2 separate regions of the Homo sapiens genome follow, and region 2 is linked to region 1. The links are contacts of gene promoters, found by promoter capture Hi-C in blood cells and fetal thymus (Javierre and others, 2016). All regions are on one chromosome and are shown on one strand. Each heading gives the region's core, a stretch centred on a gene start or on the middle of the fragment in contact. The rest is flanking DNA. Distances are from core to core; before and after follow the strand shown.

The links. The method cuts DNA at HindIII sites, captures the fragments that hold promoters and counts their contacts. A CHiCAGO score of 5 or more calls a contact.
Region 2: a fragment that was not itself captured here is called in contact with the fragment with the promoter of SEH1L in region 1 in 1 of 17 cell types (M0 macrophages); the score reaches 5.7 in M0 macrophages.

The regions. Positions count from the first base shown.
Region 1 is chr18:12,944,222-12,949,875 of GRCh38, reverse strand. It overlaps SEH1L (SEH1 like nucleoporin), which reads right to left and starts at 1,865. Exons shown (of 9, transcript NM_001013437.2): 1 at 1,644-1,865. The coding sequence starts at 1,754. RefSeq lists an enhancer at 685-1,286 and silencers at 1,218-1,317, 1,328-1,677, 1,718-2,167. The HindIII fragment of the contact is 15,085 bases long and covers 1-2,907 here.
Region 2 is chr18:12,447,735-12,453,143 of GRCh38, reverse strand. It overlaps SPIRE1 (spire type actin nucleation factor 1), which reads left to right. Exons shown (of 17, transcript NM_001128626.2): 14 at 6-76; 15 at 632-659; 16 at 753-889; 17 at 3,248-5,409. The coding sequence ends at 3,506. It overlaps LOC105371998 (a long non-coding RNA gene), which reads right to left. Exons shown (of 6, transcript NR_136514.1): 6 at 5,346-5,409. It also overlaps the pseudogene HMGB3P28. Among named protein-coding and RNA genes, the nearest start is that of PRELID3A, 43 kb to the right of the region's middle. The HindIII fragment of the contact is 1,986 bases long and covers 1,860-3,845 here.

The DNA of each region.
Region 1 (5,654 bases), core at 616-3,115:
GGGTACAGAGTTTCAGTTTAGGATGATGAAAAGGTTCTGGAGATGGGCAGGGGCGACGCTGCACAAAAATGTGAATGCTGTGCTCTATGCCACTGAATTCTACACTTTAAAACGGTTAACGTGGGCCGGGCGCGGTGGCTCACGCCCGTAATCCTAGCACTTTGGGAGGCCGAGGTGGGCGGATCACGAGGTCAGGAGATAGAGACCATCCTGGCTAACATGGTGAAACCCTGTCTCTACTAAAAAATACAAAAAATTAGCCGGGCGTGGTGGCGGGCGCCTGTAGTCCCAGCTACTTGGGAGGCTGAGGCAGGAGAATGGCGTGAACCCGGGAGGCGGAGCTTGCAGTGAGCCAAGATTGCGCCACCCCACTCCAGCCTGGGTGACAGAGCAAGACTCCGTCTCAAAAAAAAAAAAAAAAAAAAAAAAAAAACGGTTAACGTAGTTTATTACAACAAAAATAAACTTGTTTTAAAAAAGAAACTACATCTTTTAAAAATTGCAACACTATTTATAAAAAGTTTATCTTTGAGAGATCACTGGTATCAAACTCGAATGTGAAAAAGGATAAACTATCCTTCAGATTTCCAGTTACTCTGGAGTTGTCGAGAACCAAATAATCCGCACTCCAGCTTTCATTCATCCTGCAACACATCTGGGAGGTTCCTAAATCTCATGTAGCATCCCCACATTAGAAATTCTGCTTGTAGGCCGGGCGCGGTGGCTCACGCCTGTAATCCCAGCACTTTGGGAGGCCGAGGCGCCGAGGCGGGTGGATCACGAGGTCAGGAGTTCGAGACCAGCCTGGCCCACATGGTGAAACTCTGTCTCTACTAAAAAATACAAAAAAAAAAAAAGATTAGCCGGGGGTGGTGGCGTGCACCTGTAATCCCTGCTACTTGGGAGGCTGGGGCAGGATAATCGCCTGAAAGCGGGAGGCGGACGTTGCAGTGAGCCGAGATCGTGCCATTGCACTCCAGCCTGGGTGACAGAGTGAGACTCGGTCTCAAAAAAAAAAAAAAAAAAAGAAAAGAAATTCTGCTTGTCGGAAGTGTCTACAGACGTTTACGGGAACTTCAAGAAACAAACCCTCCGATTCCTGGGCAGCAAGCAGGGAAATCATTGGATGTAAATGGTTTGTATTTTTCTTCCTCGGCGTAACAAAGTGAGCTTCTGCTCTGAACCCACGGAGAAAACCATGTGCCCTGGTGAGAGAACACCGGCGGGGCACAGAACTCGACGCAGCGCCAGCCAGGCAAAGTCTCCCACCAGGTCCCACTGCAGGTCGTCGGGTGAACAGCGCGGGCAAGACCCACGACGCCGAGGCTGACGGTGGGATGCCCCTGGGTTCCCGCCCGCAGCCCCGGCAGCGCGGCCTGGGAGAGGGCCCGGCGTACCCTGCGGGCGGGAGCGCGCACGTGGCACCAGCTGCGCAGGCGCACGGGAGGGCGGCCCGCGAGGCCGCCGTGACCCCACAATACGCGGGCGGGGAGGGCTTCCGCTCAGTCCAGCCAGGGCTCGCCCGCCACCCCACAGCTTCCAGCGGCGTCACTGAACCAAGACACAGCCCCGTTCCCCGCGCCGCCCACCCACTCCCCTTCCTTCCTTCCGGGGTCGGCCCCGCCCGCAAGCGCCGCGCGCACCTTAACGCTCTGATCGCTGGAGCAGGTTGCCATCCGCCGCCCGTGGAAGTCGAAAGAGACATCGTGGATGAGATCCTTGTGGTCCGCCGCGATGCTGCGAGCCACAAACATGGTTTCCGTCGGGCCCGCGCCTCCGAAGAGGACAGTGGCGGCGGCAGCGGCGGCGGCGCGTGGCCCGTAGCCTAGCCAGACCTCGCAGCCCGGGAGCGCACGGCTTGTGCTGCCCACGCCCCCGCACCGCCCCTGCCTATCAAGCCCCGCCCACACACCCTCCGGTCCTTCAAGCCCCGCCCCACCCACCGGCCCGTCAGGCCCCACACAGTCCCCTGGCCCCTCAAGCCCTGCCCACGCCCCGGCCCGTCATGACTCGCCCCACCTTCCGGTCCCTCAAGCCCCGCCCCGCCCCCAGGCCCGTCAAGCCCCGCCTACCCTCCCACCAGAGCCGTCATGCCTCGCCCCACCCTCCCGCCCCCTCAAGCCCCGCCCTGTTCCCGGCTCGTCAATCCTCGTCCCGCCCCCGGCCCGTCATGCCCTACGATCCTGGTGCGGGTTCCTCCAGGCTCTGACCGTTCGGCGGCGGAGGGTGCTCTGCAAAAGGCGAGTTACCTGTGCTGAGAAGTAGTAAGAGCTTATTGGTATACTGTGCAAATGAAGAAAGATGAAAAAGTGAAGACTGCCTCTCACGGTCCTCGGCCCTGAATCATTTAAGTCGACGTTTGGATGTGTTTCCCCCCAGACACATGCGAGGCGCGCGGAGCAGGTGGAGAAGACGAACCGTGGGTTTGGTCAGGAGCCGCGCTCCGTCGGGACGGCTGAAGAGCAGGGAGGGCCGGGGAGACGCCTGAGGGGATGACAAGCAGTCCAGGCTCGGCAGCCTAAGAGCGAAGGCTGGACGGGGAGGAAAGGATCAGAAGTAGTAGTTTAAATGTGTCAAGATTTTACAGGTAGAACAGGCCTGGGGGTGCTAGGAGCCACCACGGGGGTAGGGAAATAGTATGAATTAGAAGAGTCCGCCTGTAGAAACGTGTCATCCCGGGGGAAGGAAGCGGCCGGGGAAGTGGGCTGCTTGCTACCCGGGAGCCAGAGTCCTCCGGGGAAAAGGAAGTGAAGAGGGCCAGAGCCCCTGGGAAGAGGCCTGGCTCAGATCAAGGATTCTGCCAAAACCGGAAAGTGGAGGAGCCAACGACTCGGGGGGTTTTGCTTATCAGGAAAAGGCATTCTAGAGGGCGTAGTGGTAAAGTTAGGATGGGAGACAGTGGAAGCTTGCGTCAGGGGAGCGAAAGTACAGAAAAAAAAAAAATGAGGCTGCAGAAGGGACTTGCCCTTTGGATTTTGGCCAGGAATGACAAAAATGTGAGGTATGGTAAAATTAGCAGGCTGGAAAGTTTTTTAAATGATTAGTCCCAGCTGTCCCCTGATGGATTGCACAGAAACCTGCAAAGAGAAGTGGCGCAATGACCTGACCTTTTTCAACCATAAATAAGATTTTATTGCTACTTTAAGAGGTGGGCCCCACCTCTTATGATAACTGATAACAACTATAACTTTTTTGAAGGTCAAAGACACTCATTTCCAAAGAAAGTGCTCACTATAAAAGTCCAATCAAAATATATTGATTATTATAAAAATATCAAAACAGTTTAAAAATTGTTTTAATTAAATTTAAATACAGACAGTAAACAGATCATTGGTTGCCAGAGATTATCAGAGTGGGAGTGAAGTGTTGAATTAGGTGAAACAGTGGATTTTTTAAAATAGACTTTAGTTTTTAGAACACTTTCAGGTTCACAGCAAAATTGAGCAGAAAATAGAGTTCCCGTATGTACCCCTACTGTCACACATGCACAGCATCCTCCACTGTCAACATCCCATACCAAAGTGGTACCTTTGTTATGATCAGTGAACCTACATTGACACATCATTATCACCCAAAATTCAGAGTTTGCATTAGGGTTCACTCTTGGTGTTTTATTCTGTGGGTTTTGGCAAATATATAATGACATGGATCCACCATTATAGTATCACGCGGAATAGTTTGACTGCCCTGAAAATCCTTAGTGCTCCTGTTCATCCCTTTCTTCCGACAACACCTGGCAACCGCTGATCTTTCCACTGACTGCATGGTTTTGACTTTTCCAGAATGGCATATAATGGGAATCTTGGAGTGGCTAGCCTTTTCAGATTGGCTTCTTTCCTTATAGTAATATGCATTTAAGCTTTCTCCATGTCTTGTCTTGAGAGTTCATTTCTTTTTAGTGCTGAATAATATTCCATTGTCAGGCTGTAACAGTGTTTATTCATTCCCCAACTAAAGGGCATTCTGGTTGTTTCTGTGTTTGGGCAATTATCAATAAAGCTCCTACAAACATCTGTGTACAGGTTTTTGTGTGGACATGTTCGCAACTCCTTTGGGTAGATACCAAGAAGCATGATTGCTGGATCATATTGTAAGAGTAAGTTTAGTTTTGTTTTTTGGGGTTTTGTTTTGTTTTTTGAGACAGGGTCTCACTCTGTCATGGCAGACAATCGTGGCTCACTGCAGCTTTAAATTCCCTGGGTTCAGATGATCCTCCCACCTCAGCCTCCCGAGCAGCTGGGACTACAGGCACAGTGCCACCACACCCAGCTAATTTTTCTGTTTTTTGCAGAGATGGGGTTTCACCATGTTGAGCAGGCTGGTCTCAAACTCTTGGGCTCAAGCGATCCTCTTGCCTTGGCCTCCCAAAGTGCTTGGATTACAGGCATGAGCCACTGTGCCTGGCCTGGTTTTATAAGAAACTTACAAACTGTCTTCCAAAGTGGTCGTGTCAGCCAGGCCTGGTGGCTAAATTACCCTGTAATCCAGCACTTTGGGAGGCCGAGACGGGCAGATTATCTGAGCTCAGGAGTTCAAGACCAGCCTGGGCAACGTGGCGAGACCCGCTTCTCTACTAAAAATACAAAATAAAAATACAAAAAAATGCCCCAGGAGTGGTGGTGGAACCGAGATTGTGCCACAGGACTCCATCCTGGGCAACGCAGGGAGACACTATCTCAAAAAAAAAAAAAAAAGAGAGAGAGAATTTAACACAGGAAACTGGTTACATATATATCCAAGGGGTTAATTAAGAGCAAAAAGGGAACATGTGAGATTACCCAGAGACTAGTAACTACGGGAAACTCTGGGCTGGGAGCGTGAAAGGGAAAATAGTTTTACCCAGTGCTACCATCATTGACTCTGAGGCTGCTGACATTGGCACCTTTACCACCAGCAGGCAGAAAGCCAGGAGCCAATACTCCAGCTTACACTGCAGGCGTCCAACAGAGTAACAGCCATGGGAGCCCACAAGCTCTGAACAGCTGAGGTTCCTGGAGCCTCTGCTAGTACTGCTGGAGCTAGGGCTGAGTGCTGCTGCTACTGCTGCTGTTCACATCACCCCCGAGCAGGAAGCCAGGCTCACCCATTGCCACCACCACCACTACTCAGCTATGTGAGCTGCCTCCACAAATTGGAGAAAAGGTCTTCTTCCTCCTGCATCTGAATCCCCTACTGTCTCTCAATTCAGAACCTAACTAGAAATAGAGAGCTAATAAGAGTCTGGAAAAACAAGCTTGGAGGTTTCCAGTTCATATTCTGGAAAGAATACGACCTACAGTGAAGGCTGGGCGTGGCAGCTCACACCTGTAATCCCAACATTTTGGGAGGCTGAGGCGGGCAGATCACTTGAGGTCAGGAGTTCAAGACCAGCCTGGCCAACATGGTGAAACCCCGTTTCTACTAAAAATACAAAAATTAGCTGGGCGTGTTGGTGAGCGCCTGTAATCTCAGCTACTCAGGAGGCTGAGGCAGGAGAATCGCTCTAACCCTGGAGGCAGAGGTTGCAGTAAGCTGAGATTGCACCGCTGCACTCCAGCCTGGGCAACAGAGCGAGACTCCATCTCAAAAATATAAATAAATAAATAACCTACAATGAGTTAAGAAGCTTTCACATTTTTTTTCCTGCTCTGCGCCAGTTTAAATAGCATAGGAAC
Region 2 (5,409 bases), core at 1,603-4,102, 500 kb after region 1:
TTTAGCTCTGCTTTTGTTGCCGAACCAGGAGGTTTTCCTTCTTCACTTGGTCTTATACCTGTCAGTTCTGTAAGAGGTAAGGTATTTTGTAATTGATGAAAAGATAAATTTAACAGTCGTAAGAGAAATACCAATTATCTTCCTTATTTCACCATCTTTCTAAACAGGAATAAAATTAGAAATGACTCACTCTGTTACGTTACCTTGTGCTATCCTTGTAGGTTAGGAATATTGATTTCTTAAGAGAGTGAGCCAAATATTTATTTGATATTGAACCTAGAAAATGTTTCTCTGTATGTTACTTCTTTTACATAACTAAGATCATTCTAATAATATGTCATGTTTGAACAGAAAAAAAATAAGATGTGATTATCATGTGATCCCTGGATAGACAAATAAGAAAATTCCAAACACATGTAAGTTGATCCTTTTATAGGAGACAGTGTAAGAGTTAAGTTCTGTAGATTATCTTTTTGGCAATTCAGTGTGTCAATTTGTTACATTCTAATAGAAGAAGGGAGAGTTATGCAGTTTATTGTGGAAACTTACAACTGTACTGCCATAGGCTTCTCTAACTCCCAGTTGCGTCCCCTGGTATCATGCCAAATAACATTTATGATTTTGTTTACAGGCCGGTGTGCTCACAGTGTTGCAAAAAGGTAAGCTAAGCTTGGTTCATTTATACTTGTGTTCCTTTTAGTGACTGCCTCTTTAACGGTACTGCTCATTGCCAGTTTTATTTGGGATAATAGATGCGGCTGCCCTCCAAACCATACTCCACTCTTCCTATCTTTTCATTGGGACCTTCTGCTCTGCAAAGAGGGGAAAGTAGTATGAGGTCAGAAAAACCCTCCACTGCCCATCATCGGCCACTTCGGAGCATTGCCAGGTGAGCAAGGGGCCTGGGTTGTCAAACCATCCTTTGCAGAAGAAGAGTTCTACTCTTGAGGACTGTGGTAGAGTGTTAGGGTTTTGGCTCGAGGGGTTTTTATTGGTTTGTTGGTTGGTTTTAATACAGTTTTACACACAAATCTCCAAAACTTCCCCAAAGGTAACTTTTCAAGGAATAATGGCTAGCTACTTGAAAGATACTTTCATCACAGAGTTTATATTTTTTTCTACTTTAGAAATAACTGTTTTACTGTGTCCTGTAAGAGTCATCTTTAAAACTGACCTTGTTTTCAATGGAGTTGAAAATTGGAATGTAACAGTCTCATCCTTTCCTCCTTGTCTAGTTTTGAAAGGAATCTGTTTAATCCTGTTTACAATGTTCTGCCATAGCTTTGACTGACTTTACTATTATTGTAAAGGCAGAAATAAAGCTTTATGCCAAGAGCTAATAATTTAAAAGAAAAAACATCACCTCAGTATCAGTCCCTTTGCATTTAGTGCAGGGTAAGTTTAGTGTTGGGCCTTAAGAAAGATGGAAGGAGGTAGGCCAGCTCAAGCCTCAAGCTGGCAGGGCCGAGAGGCTGGGCTTTGATCTACCAACCACATGTCCTGGCTCTGTGGACAGCGAGGCGAGGAAGCTGTGAGCCCAGCATGAACCTTGTGCCTGAAACGTCTGCCTCTGTGCTTGGGCTGCCTCCTCTGAGACCTCTGGGTGTGAATTTTCAGTGAGCTCAAGGCAGTGCACATAACAGCTGCTACAGTTTTCCATACTTAACTCTGAACATACTATAGACTACCCATTTATATCCTGTTTGGTTTAGTTAAAATAGTAAATAAGTAGATGATTCCTGGTTATCTCAGACATTCCTGGAAATATTTACTATGATGTTGGTCTGGTTATCTCCAGCTCCTTGGAATCCCAATAAATAATCGCACAAATACAGGGAATTGTTGGGGAGGGAGAAGCTTGTTTGATAAATACATAAATGATGAGAAAACTAGTCAAAATTTAGTTTTTAGGATGTGTCATGGGATTAAGATAAATTTACTTGAATTTCCCGTAGTCTGACCTGCCATCTACAGTTAGCTAATGTTCATTGGGAATCAGATGAATACCCTATTTTTCAAGAATTCTAGAAGGGTGGTTAAGAGTTTTTAGTATTATTTCTTTTTTTTTTTTCAAATGGACAGTCTCTTATTCATCCTCCTCCTCCTCCTCCTCCTCCCCTCCTTCTTCCTTTTCATCTTGTTCATCTTCATCTTCCTCTTCCACCTTTTTCTGGGCAACTTTAGCAGGACCCTTTTCTCCATCAAACTTTCCTTTCAACTTATAGTCAGAAACATCCTTCTCATACTTTTCCTTCAGCTTTGCCGCCTTAGTGGTGTAAGGCTGCTTTTCACTGTCATTTAAGTTATTCCGCATCTCACCCAGCTTTTTTGCCATGTCTCCAATAGAGATGCCAGGGTTTATGAATTTGATCTTGGGGTGGAATTCTGAACAGAGCAGGAAGAATCCAGACGGTGGCTTTTTCGGGGCATTAGGATCCTTCTTCTTGCCTCCCTTAGCTGGTCCATAATCCTTCATTTCCCAGTGGTAGTGTACTTTATCCACCTTTGCCATTTCATCAAATTTAGACTTCTCTTTCCCAGACATTGTCTTCCACCTCTCAGAGCACTTCTTGGAAAATTCTGCAAAATTGACAGAGACCGCTGGGCTCTTCTTCTTATGTTCTTCTCTGCACGTCTGCACAAAAAGGCATAAGCAGACATCTTGCCCTTTGGTTTCTTGGGGTCACCTTTAGCCATCCTGACTGTATTGTTCGATAGTCTGGGCAGTGCCTGTCTTAATAAGACATGTTTTCTGCTTTCTTTCCTTTTCTTTTTTTGTTTTTTGAGACAGAGTTTCGCTTTTGTCACCCTGGCTAGAGTGCAGTGGTGCCATCTCAGCTCACTGCAACCTTCACCTCCCGGGTTCAAGCGATTCTCCCGCCTCAGCCTCCAGAGAAGTGGGGATTACAGGGGCCCACCACCATGCCTGGCTATTTTTTTTTTTTTTTTTTAGTAGAGACTGGGTTTCGCCAAACTCCTGACCTCAGGTGATCTGCCTGCCTCAGCCTCCCAAAGTGCTGGGATTACAGGCGTGAGCCACCGCACTAGGCCTCCTACTTTCTTTTCTAAGTAATATTTTTTAGCCTTGTCACCAATAAGAAATTTTTTTAGAAGGACATATGATTAAATCACTCATCCATTCCATGATGTTTTGACAACAAATTTACTTTTTTTTATACATATTTTCTTAATATTGCAGCAGACCTATAAGTAACAATGCTGGGCTTCTGTTTTGTTTTCACCCCAGGTTCTCCTCAAAATCTAAGTCTATGGACAAATCAGATGAAGAACTCCAGTTTCCCAAAGAGTTGATGGAGGACTGGAGCACCATGGAGGTGTGTGTGGACTGCAAGAAGTTCATTTCGGAAATCATCAGTTCAAGCCGGCGCAGTCTGGTGTTGGCCAACAAAAGGGCCCGATTGAAAAGGAAAACGCAGTCTTTCTACATGTCCTCGCCAGGCCCCTCGGAGTACTGCCCTTCAGAGAGGACGATCAGTGAGATCTGAGCCTCGTGCCTTTCAGCTGCTTTTGTGCTACGAGTCAGCGTCCGTGCGCGAGGACACTGAGCCGGGCTGGCTCTCCTTTCTGTGGTTTTATTTAATGGGCTTGAATTTGCATTAGATCAGATTTTTGCCGCATCACATTGTTCCACAGACTGAATGCTGTGTTCGTATCGATTGATGAAACGTGACAGGTCCGCCAATTGCTCGTTTGCACTGAGAGAGGACAACAGTTTGAAACTTACTTTTGTGTGTGTGTGGCTTTGGAAGCCAGTAGCTACTTCCTTAGTTCAGTTCTTTACTGTTCCTCGAATAATCTCCTGACTAAGGCAAAAAAAAAAAGCTTCTCCTACGAGAATCAGTCTAACAGAGATGCCGATGTCAGCACAGCCCTAAGCAGTAAGTCATATTGGCATTTCCACGTGACTGTGTTTCTATCCCGTGTACAGAGAGATCCAGAGCCCTACACTCCACGACCTGGGGGCTCACAGCACAGAACCTAGAAGCACCTGCTGACACTCTTCAACTGATTTTTAAATGTTGTTGCTTGGAGATAAAAATTACATAAGGGACTTTTTGCCTGCATTCTAGTGCAAAACATCTGAAGAGCTGTACACCCACAAGGGTGACTATTTCCCCTGAGTGGCCGTGTTGTCCCAGTGCCCTGGTTCAGTGTCTCCTGAGTGGATGACAGGTCTTCATTCTCTATCTTGAATGTATTATGGTTACTAATAGTTTTATAATGGAGGTCTAAGAATTAAAGTTGTGTGGGAGTTTCAGGACAAAGGAAGGCTAAAAGTTTGTCAAGACGTTGAGCGTATTTTGGTTACCTATGAGAAGGGTTGTGACAGTGTACAGTGGCAGCTGTTGGCCACGCTGCAGAAATGAGCTGGAGCTCATGGGTTTTCAGCTACATTTTTCATAACTTTGTAGTACATCCATCTTGAGTAAATTAAGCCACAATTTGGTACCTAGGGTCTCAAACTAAAATTTATTTTTATAAATGAATTTTAAAAGAAAAAATATCTACTTCTTTTAAAGTTAGAAGAAAATTAACCTGCTGACAGGCAACATTTTTGGGGTGCTTTCTGCACTAGTTTTCCTTGTAAATGATTTGAGTGAGTAGGTTTGGTTTCTGACGAAAGTAGACTGGAGGGTAGCATTGTATGCCTCAAATGTCTCAGTGTGTTTGGCTCATACGTGGGCTATACTGTATTATTTTGGTATGCTTACAAATGACTAACCAATCAAATTGTCATTAATGTTTGGAAAATCTGTTAATGCACATGCACAATAATTTCCTGAAAGCCATAGGACATGTCTGTAGTCAGCACCACGATAGCACCGTTTCATGAAAGGCATGGCGGCTGCATTTCATACCACATCAAAATACAGTAACATTTCTATACTAAATTAACAGTAATACCTCAAAACTGCTCCGGTAGTAGTTTTTAATGGATTGAAATTTACAGTTTAGTAAAAGGCTTAAAATTACTTATACTTATGAAATAAACTTTACCAGTTGACTAAAATAATGCATGTTAACAGTTGGTCTGTATTTGCATGTAAAAGTGGGCCACCAGAGAACCCTTATTGATTACTTAAGTGTTTACATTATTTTAAAGACTCCTGTTTAAGAGCTTTCAGAATTGTACTGGGTGAATCTCATTTATAAAACTTCCTAAGAGACTATCTGAACTCTATACTCCAGACAGTTAGGTGGGAGTATAAATCTACCCCTTTTGATGACCCCAGGCTTGAGTTTTTAAAATGACTACCCAGAAGGGCACAAGGGGGAAGGAAATGGTATTTGTATATGTATATAAATATGCACCTAGGAGAATGTGCTTTTTAAAATAATGACTACTGTTTTTATTAAAACATAAGAAACTACACCCCCAAAATAAGA